Regions from separate parts of the Homo sapiens genome. Here region 2 is linked to region 1. Evidence: promoter capture Hi-C in 16 types of primary human blood cells and fetal thymus (Javierre and others, 2016). All regions are on one chromosome and are shown on one strand. The core of a region is centred on a gene start or on the middle of the fragment in contact, and the rest is flanking DNA. Distances in the headings are between cores, read along the strand shown. Region 1 holds the start of DNAJC22 (DnaJ heat shock protein family (Hsp40) member C22). Region 2 overlaps PRPF40B (pre-mRNA processing factor 40B).

What was found. Contacts are between HindIII fragments. The CHiCAGO score rates a contact against its expected background, and 5 or more counts as called.
Region 2: a fragment that was not itself captured here is called in contact with the fragment with the promoter of DNAJC22 in region 1 in 2 of 17 cell types (M0 macrophages and endothelial precursors); the score reaches 5.9 in M0 macrophages.

What each region holds. Positions count from the first base shown.
Region 1 is chr12:49,345,528-49,348,227 of GRCh38, forward strand. DNAJC22 (DnaJ heat shock protein family (Hsp40) member C22) reads left to right here and starts at 1,361. Exons shown (of 4, transcript NM_001304944.2): 1 at 1,361-2,024; 2 at 2,117-2,578. RefSeq lists silencers at 1-5, 26-145, 2,178-2,397 and an enhancer at 2,060-2,700. The HindIII fragment of the contact is 2,270 bases long and covers 1,235-2,700 here.
Region 2 is chr12:49,627,113-49,629,812 of GRCh38, forward strand. The region is part of intron 1 of PRPF40B (pre-mRNA processing factor 40B); the gene reads left to right. Among named protein-coding and RNA genes, the nearest start is that of PRPF40B, 4.9 kb to the left of the region's middle. The HindIII fragment of the contact is 1,865 bases long and covers 320-2,184 here.

The DNA.
Region 1 (2,700 bases), core at 111-2,610:
GGCTGGCTCAGCGCTGGCACTCAGTGGGCGCGCAACGTATGTTTGCCGAATTGAAAGGCTGGGACACCGAGCGGCGCAGGGCAGAGGGTCGGAGGGCACAGGCGGGGTAGGAGATGGCCCAGACCGGGTGAGGGCAGAAGCCTCACTCACGGGGGAAGAAGGCACTCGAGGTCGCTCTGAGGACCGCTGGGCTGGGATAGACCACCCATCCCCCGCCGGGGAGACCCGGGTAGTAAAGAACAAGACAGAATGGGACAGGCAGGACGGTTTGGACCCCACCTACAAGCGCCTCCACCACCCCAGCCTCCGATCCTTGTCACGCTCTGCTGGGGAAACCGAGGCAGCCGATGCTGAGAATAGCCAAAAAGTTAAAAGCGGGGTCAGCGACGAAGCTGGGGCAGCAACCAGAATTCCTGCGTGGGTTTTTTGGATTCCTCCGCCCACGCGGGGCCAGTTTGCGGGTAAATGCACCACCGCGCCCCGCACCACAGCTCAGACCCTTTCCTCTCGCTGCAGTTTGTCAGATCCCCCCACCTCCCACTCTGCACCAGTTTATAGAACAACAATTTGGGGAAAACAATCCGGGCGGAGTGACGGCCCCGTAATTGTGACAAAGTGAGTGCGGGCGGCTGGAGAGAGCGCTAGGCCGGGAGCGCTGCAGGGCGAGGCGGAGGCAGGGGCGCCTCCCCCCGCCCTGCCGCCCCCTCGTTCTTATTCCGGTCACCTCCCATCCCTCTCCTTGACTCTTCAATTCCTCTTCTCCCGGCCCCTTGCGCCTTCCTTCGCTTGTTCCTCCATCGCTCTTCCCTTTCCTCCCGGTAACAGCTCTTCTCCCGCTCCCCCGACCCCGTCGCCCCTCCCCCGGTGCGCTTTTTCCTCGCTCACTTCTCCCCTCTCCTCTGCCCTCCACTCGTTTCTTCAGCTTTTCCTCGCGCTTACATTGCCCTTGGGCCCCTGGCTCTCCCCGCACAATCCGCTTCTCTCCCTCCCCACTCCTCCCTTCCTGAGATCGAACCCTGAGCCCCTTCCCGACCCCCACTCTCTGGGCCGCCAGCGCAGCCCCGCATTTCTGGGTTCCTCGGGAAGTAAACCTGGGGGCGCGCTGCGGCCCCGGGTGCCCCGGCGGCCAGCCCCTTCCCTCTCCCTTGTATGGCTGCCGCCCCCGCCCCACCACCTGAGCCGGGAGATAGTTTGTTTGTCCAGCGGCGGCCGCCGCCGCCCACGCTGTTTGCAAAGCTTAGCGCGCCGTCGCGCAGTGCGGGCCCAATTAAGTCTCATTCATTATTCAGCGCTCCTGTCCGCCCCCGCCCCCCAGCAGTCTGAGGCGTCGCTTTGGGGCCCCTCCCAGCCTAGGCCCCTCAGTGAGCCCTAAGAGGTCATATAGAGAGCAGCATTTCCTCTCCAGGCCGAGATGAGGGCTGAGGGCGTTTGGAGGGAAGCGCTCTGCCTACTGCCGGGAGGTGACACCCGCGAGGCCGACCGTCCCCCGAAGCCCCCGCAAGTCCAGACTGGGGGACCTCGGAGATCCACGAGATTGCCAGAGAAGGAAATTGAGGCCCAAGAAGCTGCATGACTTAGCCAAGTTCACGGAGTAGAACCCGGGATTGGAGCCCGGGACATTGAAATGAAGGCGTCTTGCATTGCAGCTCCGTTGCAGCGCAGAGGCGCAGGAAGGCAGACTACCACGAGCCTCGGGCTGCGGCCTCGCCCTCCTGGTCGAGCCTCCTGCCCTCCAACCCTCTGCTCCCGTTTCTCCCTCTGGTTCATAGCCCGCGGGACAGAGCAGCCCTGGATTGGGAGGCTCCTCAGGTCTCAGGCTCAGGTGCAGAAGCAGAGCCCCTAACTGGAAGGCTCGGAGGTGGGCCGGTGAGGCAAGCAAGCCCTGTGGGGGGTTGAGGACAGCTTGGGTTGGATGTCCCTCACTGCAGCCTGTCCGTGGATGTCTCTGCCTTAAGGGAATTGGAGGTGGAACCATCCAGTCTTGAAGGTCAACGGAGCGTGAAGAGAGGAGCGTGCAGCTTGAGGTGAGGGAGGAGTCACCTTTCAATTTGTGGGGGTGGGAGGAGGTAATCAAGGACGTATTCTTGCATTTACAGGAGTTTATCCTTTTTTTTAGCACTACAGATAGGAGCGTCCCTTGCTCCTGCCAGGCAGCCCCTCCATAGGGGCAGTCCTGTGCTGCTGTGCCTCGGTACCCGCACAAGGTGTCTGGGGACCGCCCGGACCCCCCCTTCCATCGGCGGCAGCGCCACCTGGCGGCCATGGTGCGGTGGTGTGGGAGGAGCTGGGCCCGGGCTGGGCACTGAGCCCACCGGAGCTGCAGGCGTCTGCAGAGCCTTGCACCGAGTTTCCCCGCGAGGGCGGGCGGGAGGAGTCCCAGGCGGGAATGTGATCCCCAGGGGGCCGGGGAGGGCCCTGGGGAGGAGCCTGGCCTGGGGAAGCCGGACTTCCGTGACACAACAGACACAAAAGACAAAGTCCATTTGGATGGAAGTGGGAGCAGGGCGAGACGGGCCATTTTCACTCTGTGGTCAAAGGAAATGACTGGTCTGACTCGGTCTGGGAGCGGGGCACCCAGGTATGGCCACTTGATTTGGAAGTAGCGGGTGCTGGCTGGTGGTCGCTCCAGATAGAGGGGACACTGGCAGGCACGCTTGGCGTCCAGTTTGATATTGTGAGGATTTGTCCAGCTGCTGTGGA
Region 2 (2,700 bases), core at 2-2,501, 280 kb after region 1:
TGGATATGAGGTGAGCAAAAACAGATGAAGTCCCTGCCCTTCAGTGTTTTCAGTCTAGTAGGGGCCACGGATATTATATTTCATTAATTCTGAGACTCATATTTGAACATTTGTCAAGTCAGGATGCATCTTCAAATTGACAGGATATTATAATTTAATTGGCAGCATTTGTTTTTTATTCATGCCAAATAGAAAAATAATATAATCAGGATTATACAAATAACTATAAAATTCTAATGGATAATTGCCGAAGGAGAAGGTACATGGTGTTGTACAAGTATATAAAAGCGGGCTCTGACTAGTTCAGGGAGTTGGGAAAAGCTTTCGTGAAGAAATGATTGGTAGATGTGAAGTGTAGTAGGCAAGGTGTGTGGGGTTGGCAGGGCCAACCCAGTTTTCTCAGGCAAAGGTGGATGCCTGAGGTGGGAGAGCTGAGAGAAGGTGAGTAGGGCTGGAACTGAGACCCAGGAGCTCAGCATGGGGGAGATTGGCAAGGTAGCTGGGTAGCAGACCCCCTCATAGTACTGGGTAGGGGGTTTACTATTTACCCTAAGAGCAGTGGGAAGCCATTGAAGAGTTTTAAGCAGGGGGCTAACAGTCTGAGGTGCACTTTGAAGAGCTTGTTATAGCTGCTGATTGGAGTGGATGTGGGGAAAACAGTTGGGAGGCCACTGCAATTAGATGAAAAAAGATGGTGGCTTGGGCAAGATGGGTGGTGGAAAAGGAAATGGAGAGAAATGGATAGATTCAAGAAATCTTGAGGAGGTAAAGTTAACAAGACTTGGTGATTTATTGGCAAGGAAGAGGGAGTTGTGGAGAGTGACTCATAGGTTTCCATTTGGACAATTGAATGGTGTGGTGCCAGTCTCTGAGACGCTTCTGAGGCTCCCCTGGAGCCTGGTAGGACCCAAAGATGTTAGAGAGGCTCCTGAGGCAGCTTGAGATGGGAAAGTGTGACACAGAAAATTGTATTTCCTCCACTATTGATTAGTTTCTGACTTCCCATGCTGAGGAAAGCGTCAGGGGCAAGAGCAAGTCTGAATACAGAACTAAAGCAGTTGAGCACTTAGAAAAGATGAGTCACATTGGAGAGGTTTAGCTCATACCCTTTTCTTCTTAGGACAAGATGAAGGACAGTTTGTTGTTGTTGTTGTTGTTTTGTCTTTTTGAGAGTGTCTCACTCTGTCACCCAGGCTGGAGTGCAGTGGTGCAGTCTCAGCTCAATGCAACCTCCGCCTCCCAGGTTCAAGCAGTTCTCGTGCCTCAGCCTCCCCAGTAGCTGAGACTACAGGCGTGTGCCACCACACCTGGCTAATTTTTGTATTTTTAGTAGAGGTTTCACCATGTTGGCCAAGCTGGTCTCGAACTCCTTACCTCAGGTGATCTGCCCGCTTGGCCTCCCAAAGTGCTGGGATTACAGGCGTGAACCACCGCACCAGGCCAGGAACAGTTTTTTTTTTTTTTTTTTGGAGACGAAATCTCGCTCTGTCGCCCAGGCTGGAGTTGGAGTGCAGTGGCGCCTCGGCTCACTGCAAACTCCGCCTCCTGGGTTCACCTCATTCTCCCACCTCTCCCGAGTAGCTGGGACTAAAGGTGCCTGCCACCACGCCTGGCTAATTTTGTTTTTGTATTTTTAGTAGAGACAGGATTTCACCGTGTTGGCCAGGATGGCCTCGATCTCCTGACCTCATGATCTGCCCTCCTTGGCCTCCCAAAGTGCTGGGATTACAGGTGTGAGCCACCGTGCCCAGCCAGGAACAGATATTTTAAAGGCAGACATGAAGGGCGTTTTTAAATGCTGAGCATTCTCAACATAGGGGAAATTGGCAGCAGTGAGGTACCTTCTCTTCAGCCAGATACCACCTTTCCCCGGGATTCCTCCCTATCACCCCCTAACTTTCAGGCAAAGAGGCAGAAGGGCTGGGCCCTTTAGCTGCATCTCCAAGCCTCGGTTCACTTACAGTGAGTTTGTTTGTTTTTGAATGGGCAATATAGTCATATGGCTGCGTATTCAAAAGATACAAAAGCCATACAGGGAAAAGTCTCCCCTTTATCTCTGTCCCTTTCTACCATTTCTTGTGTATCATCTTTTGTCTCTGACTTTTATACAAATGATAAAAGTTTGCTGCACCTTGCTTTCTTTCCCACTTGTTAATACATCTTAGAGATCATATCGAGACAATAAGCTTCTTCATTCTTGTTTATAACTGTATAGCACTGCATTTTATGTGTATATATAATTTCATAGCTCCTTACTGGTGGCTATTTAGGCTGATTCCAATCTTCTGTTTTTACAAATAATACTGAAATGAAAACCTTAAACATACAGCATTTTGGCCATGTAGGGCTATACCTATAAAATTAATTTTTAGAAGTAGAAGGTTCTATATAGAGATTTGTTCTGTTTGTTCTTCGTTCGTTCAATATTTGCTGAATACCTATTATGTGCCAGATGCTGGTAGGTACCAGGAATACAGCTTCCAACAAGTCAGATATGATCCCTGTCTTCATGGAATGTTATTACACTCTTGTTGGGGAAAACATATCCAGGCAAACATAATAATTACAAAATTATGTACATGAGGAAACTAAAAAGGGGATCAGATAGAGAAATAGGAAGGAGCTACTTTAAATACAGTCAGGAAGTTGTCTTAAAATAAGTGATACTTAAGCTGAGAACTAAAGGATGGGATGCAGACA